Regions from separate parts of the Homo sapiens genome. Here region 1 is linked to region 2. Evidence: promoter capture Hi-C in human tissues and cell types (Jung and others, 2019). All regions are on one chromosome and are shown on one strand. The core of a region is centred on a gene start or on the middle of the fragment in contact, and the rest is flanking DNA. Distances in the headings are between cores, read along the strand shown.

What was found. Contacts are between HindIII fragments. The study calls those that stand out against the background at their distance.
Region 1: a fragment that was not itself captured here is called in contact with the fragment with the promoter of DDX4 in region 2 in 1 of the 25 tissues and cell types used here (pancreas).

Annotation. Positions count from the first base shown.
Region 1 is chr5:55,786,524-55,789,788 of GRCh38, reverse strand. It overlaps DDX4 (DEAD-box helicase 4), which reads right to left. Exons shown (of 22, transcript NM_024415.3): 14 at 3,119-3,265; 15 at 1,789-1,943. Among named protein-coding and RNA genes, the nearest start is that of DDX4, 50 kb to the right of the region's middle. The HindIII fragment of the contact is 6,379 bases long and covers 1-3,265 here.
Region 2 is chr5:55,736,660-55,739,881 of GRCh38, reverse strand. It overlaps DDX4 (DEAD-box helicase 4), which reads right to left and starts at 1,821. Exons shown (of 22, transcript NM_024415.3): 1 at 1,781-1,821; 2 at 850-932. The coding sequence starts at 918. The HindIII fragment of the contact is 12,969 bases long and covers 1-3,222 here.

The sequences.
Region 1 (3,265 bases), core at 474-2,973, 50 kb before region 2:
TGAGTGTGCAACCTGTCCAGTCACACAGAGTCCCAAGTTCAGAAGAATCCCGTGTTTCATTTAATGCTCTGTTGTCGCTGCCTTGAAATTTGTAATAATTTTACAACAAAGGACCCTGCACTTTCAATTTTGCACTAGTTCCAATAAATTATAATATAGCCACTCCTGAGTGGGGTCAAACTTAGTGACTTGCTTCTTACAAAGAGAATGTGGCAGAAGGACAATGTGTGACTTCTGGGACTATTTCATAAAAGCTATTACAGCCTCCTCTTTGTTCTTACTGATCACTTAATCTAGGGGAAGCCAGTGCCATTTAATCATGCATCCCTATGGAGAGATCCAATGAAGCCCTCAGATGACTGCCTTGACATCTTGTCTGGTTGACAATAAAACCAGAATTGGTTGACATCTCGTTTACAATCTCATAAGAAACTCTTAACTCAGAAGGACCCAGCTAAGCCAAGCTGTTCCCCAATTCCTAAGCCCCCAAAATGGTGAGACAGTAAATGTTTATTGTTGAAAGCAACTATGTTTTAAGGGAGTTTGTTAGGCAGCGATAACTAAATGTTGGCAAAGGGTATACTGAAATTGGACTTCTGATAGACTGCAGGCACAAATATACATTAATTACAAGCTTTAAAATAAGTTCCTGCTCTTTAACATTAAAATTGATAAAACTCTATTCTAAGAAAATACTTAAAACAGAAAACTGTTGGTTTTTTTTATATATAAGTCAAGGTCTCACTGTCATCTAGGCTGGAATGCAGTGGCGCAATCACAGCTCACTGCAGCCTCGACCTCCCAGGCTCAGGTAATCTCTCAGGCTCCCAAGTAGCTGGGACTACAGGGGTGCACCACTGCACCTAGCTAGTTTTTGTTCTTTTTTGTAGAGATGGGTTTTCACCATGTTTTCCAGGCTGGTCTTGAACTCCTGGGCTCAAGCTATCTGCCCATCTTGGCCTCCCAAAGTGCTAGGATTACAGGTGTAAGACATCATATCTGGCCAAAACAGAAAAACTATGTAGCAAGATGTACATTGCAATTTTGTTTACAATAGCCCCAAGTTAGAAAGAACCTAAATACCTCAGAACAGAGAAATAAAATGTATACACATGGGCAATTTAAAAGTCATTAAAAATCAGTTCTTATTATGAAATAAGAATTTTCTGTGTTATAAAGTTTTATGTAAAAGAATAGGAAATTATTAGAATACCCTGAGTTCATTTTTAAATATACATTAAAAACTACCAAGAAATAATACCAGTATGTTCACTATTTTCTACTTCTAGTATTATCTGTTTTTTAAATTAAAATTTTACTTTTTTGGAGACAGGGTCTCGCTCTGAGTGTGGTGGTGCAATCACAGTTCACTGCAGCCTCAAACTCCTGGACTCAAACAATCCTTCTGCCTCAACCTCCTAAACTCCTAGGACAACAGGTGTGCATCACCACATGCTGGCTAGTTATTTTATTTTTTGTAGAGATGGGGTCTTGCCATGTTACCCTGGCTGGTCTCGAACTCCTGGCCTCAAGCAGTCTGCCTGCCTGGGCCTCACAAAGCACTGGGATTATAGTCATGAGCCACCAAGTCCAACCTATTAACCTAATTTTTAATAAGCATATTTCTTTTCAAAAATGAAAAGGATTCCATAAACAAGATAATAAAAAAATACTTTAAGTAATGCTAAAAATTACATGAGTGCATTATTACTGAGTTCTTCCAAAAGTGAGGGGAAAAAAATCTCTAAAGAAAAAACTATTTTGTGAGTAGCACTCTGATGTACTTACCCAAAAGAAAATTTTCTGGCTTCCAAATAAATCTGGTTGACCAATTCTCGAGTTGGTGCTACAATAATACACTCTGGTTCCTGCAACTCTTTAAAACGACTGGCAGTTATTCCATCATGCATCATATGAGCCAAAATTGGTAGGAGAAAAGCCGCCTAGAAGTTAAGTTGCTTAGTTTACAAACTTATAGCACAACACTTTTATCCCTATGGAAAGCTAATCCTCATGTCCTTATAGCCTTTAGACTCTACTTCCATCTTACTGGTAAATTTAAGATGAGAAATGAAAACAACTTTCATTTCAAGGTGTTCTTAACATTTATGTCTTTATGCTCTTATTATACAATATAAAATTTGGTAAAATTAATCTAACCTATCAAAGTTTTTCAGTGTATTTTCAAAAGCATACCCACGAATTCTAAACAGATCAACAACATTAGCATATTTATAGAGGAATATGATAGATGTAATCGCTGCAAATCATTACAGTGAACAATTACTCTAAGTTAGTCCTTTTGAGGTCATAAAATTATCATTCAGAATGGATGACAAAAGTGGCCCACAGAGTAAAAACTTAGAAATCATCATCTGTATTACTGAACACATTACCCTTATTGAAGTTACATCTGGCAACAGAAATTTTGTGCTACAGTTTTCTCATTTAAGCAAATAAGACACTTGCTAAAATCCACCTCCAAAACCACGTTTAACACTCTCATCAGCTGCTATACAATACCTGTTTTTCCCTACAATTCTACTATGAAGGCTGATTAAGACTAAAATGGTATGACCTCATGGACTCTATGATCATAGAAATAAGAGTCTCATCTTATGGAGTCGTTAATTAACACACAAATCTCCCAGATTAGTCCTAAAACCAACTGGTTTCATCAGACTTCTTTTATAATTAGCATAACCTGAGGTCACTGAATACTAAGGAATCATGCACAATGCATAACTGTTTCTCATTCTTTAATCTTTTGACTTCGAGTGTACCAGCTATAATACAGAAATTACTTTCTCCCTCTCTGTTTTATAAGCTCTGCTTTGACTTTCAGTCACTTTGTTTAAGATACTACCATGTTTCAGAAAGAGCTGCACACAGAAAAGATTAAACATCTATGGACAGCAACACCACCCCAGGAATAGTTCAGAATTCTTTCTTCCGAAGTACACAAATCCTAATAAAAATCAGAAGCAAAACCATCAATACTTATGACAGGTAACTGAAACCATCTACAAACCTTCTACTCAAAAGAAGAAACCAAGTTACTAAGGAAGAACCAAAGCTCAAAAAACCTAACAGTTTGGACATGTGGGGAAAGACTTACAGTCTTCCCAGACCCTGTTTGAGCGCAAGCCATCAAATCTCGTCCTGCAAGTATGATAGGAATACTGTATTTTTGCACAGGAGTAAGCTTAGTATAACCAGCTTTAGCAATGTTGTTATTCAGTGTCTGACAGAGATTAGCTTCTTC
Region 2 (3,222 bases), core at 572-3,071:
CTTTTAAAAAGTTCCAAGAAAAGAAACATGATAAATTTATATTAGTATTTTGGGTATTTTAATATAAACTTCACATATAGATCAAATTCAACTAAGACAAAAGATTGCATATTTTATATTTTTGTCTAAAATAAGAACTTCCACTAAGGCAAAACTTGAAATCAGAAAGTGTCAGAACTGACATACACTCAAACTGGAAATTCTGAAGGGGAACAAAAAAATCAACTTGTAGAGACACCATATAGTAAGTAACACATGCAAAAATAATCTATTATCTTTTAAAGTACCTTCTATTCATCTTTTTAAAGCCAATTTCCAAGTCAGAACTGAAGCCCAAAAAACTTACCCCACTGTCCCCTAAATTACAATGTAACTCCCCAAATGCCATTAAGAAAAAAGATCTGAAGATTCATACAAACTGATGTTACCAACTCAATCAGCCTAGTATCATTTATCCTGAGAACCCTCCTTGCACAAAATCAATTTTCAGAATTTAAAATATCTCCCAAAACGTAATTATTGTTTTCAATTTTCCATACAAGCGTCTTTCACTGATATCAACCACATTTGCCCAAGTTTGCTTTCACCTGAGGAAGTCCTAAATCATTGAGATTTAAATTAGGTCATTAATATTTTTACATCTATTTTAGCTTTTAATTATCAAATTGCCTCAAGCTATTGTATCCTATACGAGGCTTAGGTTGTCTCTTATTCCCCATATAATAGTTAATAACAATCACATGGAGATAAACACTGACACAGACTGTATAATTTAGAACTCTCACCACAGTGATTTTCAACTTTGATAAAATCCGTAGCATTTAATAACTAAACTTTAAATGTTATTACCTTCTCAAATATGGGAACATAGGAAGACATATGAGGGTTGATTTCTGCTTCCCAATCTTCATCTCCCATGGTGGCTTCAAGTTCTATTCATAAAAAAAAAAAAATGCACATTTGGACTCAATTAGATCAGAATCATAACTTTAAAAGCATAAACTCATTGTTTCACATACATCTTGAAACTACCCAACTAGGTGCTGATACCCCAAAAGTTTTTTCCAAAGAAGGAATTAGGTCTCTTCTTATCTAAAGGTGGCATTTATCTCCATCCTTTCTTAGCTTTAGAAACTAGTTGAACCTCTTACCTAGTCATTCTAGCAATCGCCATGTCCCCAGCAAGACTTAGGCTTTTCCCAAACATCTGTTCATAGACTTTATCTCCTCCCTCAAAGGGTCCCCAAACGACTTACTGAATATTAAGGGAGAGGCAACTTTTTTCAGAAACTACTTAAGATTTCTCCCTTCGCATGATTAACATCCAAGGTGGATAGGATGTTTGCTTTGGGGTGTTTGTGGCGTGCGTGGGGGCGGGGACAGGGGTACGGGAGTCGACTGGGTAGGGGGGCGGCGACTCGGTGAAGAGGGAGGCCTTGGATTTTAGTGGGGAAGGGAAGAAGGGTATGGTTGCCCAAATCCTGCCGACAAAGGACAACCAGCTTCATCAAGAAGGATTTGTACACAAATGGTACTCGGACCATGTCTGTTCAGAGAAAACGCAGTGAAGAAGCCAGGAATAAGGCCCCTTCGCCTCCTCTGCAGGCCTCAAGCCCAGACTTTGGGCACCCGTGGGACTCTGAGACCCCGAGGCAGAAAGGCTTCGAAGGACGGCTTCAAAACTCCTCCTACTCCATCCACACTTTGGCCAAAGGTCGGTTACTGGGGAGCCCGTACGGCCGAGTTCAGGCCAGTTCCCGTAGAAAAGCGGCCCACTCACCTCTCCGCGGCTTGCTCTCCCAAGCCCTCGCAGGCGCCCACGCGACTTAAACGGCTGCACGTGCAAGACGCCCACTGCGTCAGGTGCGTGGCTCCAACAACAAATGGCGTCTGTTGACGATTGGCTGGTGACTAGCGCCACCAGCCAATCAGCGCTCAGACGACCAGTGGCGTCCCGCCTCCACTTCTAGCCTGCGGATTCCCTAAACGCTAGCGTTCGGGCCCCTATGGCGACGCTCTGGCCTCATAGCCAAGTGGCCTGTTGGGCCTGTGGGTACAAGGCTGGCTGAGGGCCTACTTGTGTCCACGTTCTCTCGTGGGATCCTTATTCTGGAGACGCTCTGGATTTTCCTTGTGCAAGCTTCGCAAGCTAAATATGTCCACCTGCCTTTTTCTAACAAAAAATAATAATAAAAGGGGAAAGGGATAATGTCCTCCCTACTTGGCCTCTTTAGTGCTCTCTCCCCTTTTACCCATCACAGTCCATGGGTTGGCCCCTCGGGTTCTGCATTTCAGAGACTCGCTCCACATCCGGGGATTCCAGGTGCCTCAAAGTGCAGCTGAGGCTCATGGAGGAGGTGCATTCCCTTTTCCTCCCAGTAAGGGGGGCAGGGATGAGACTCCGTCCAGCTGGGACCCCAGGAAATCGTAAAGAAAGTTAGACTCGGCTGGGCATGGTGACTCACGCCTGTAATCCCAGCACTTTGGGAGGCCGAGGCGGGCGGATCACATGAGGCTAGGAGTTCGAGACCAGCCTAGCCAACATGGTGAAACCCCGTCTCTACTAAAATTAAAAAAATTAGCCGGGTATGGTGGCGGCTGCCTGTAGTCCCAGCTACTCAGGAGGCTGAGGCAAGAGAACCGCTTGAACCCGGGAGGCAGAGGTTGCAATGAACCGAGATCATGCCATTGATCTCTACCTGGGCGACAGAGTGAGACAGAGGAAAAAAAAAAAAAAAAAAAAGCCTGTAAGATTTCGGGGGTCCACCACTTTGGAAGGAAACAGGCTCTGATCCAGAAGGAGGGAGGAAATTGGTGCTGGCATAGGTCATTCATCAAGGCTTGGATTTGTGGCCCACCTGTTTATATTCCTACGGGCACTAGCCAAAGTGGCCAAGGGTTATTTTGATACTTCATGCTGTCTTCAATCAGATTTTCTTGTTCTGCCCCCACCCCCCACCCCAAAAGCAGGTAAAATCCCTCAGTATTTCCCCAGCCCTTCAAAACGCGTGACCATGGGCTGTTTTAAAAGTGTAGTTCTCAGAGGCCGGGCGCGGTGGCTTACGTCTGTCTGTAATCCCAGCACTTGGGGAGGCCGAAGCGGGCGGATCACGAGGTCAGGAGATGCAACCATCCTGGCTAACACGGCGAAACCCCGTCTCTACTAAAAATACAAAAAATTAGCCGGGCGTGGTGGCGGGCGCCTGTAGTCCCAGCTACTCC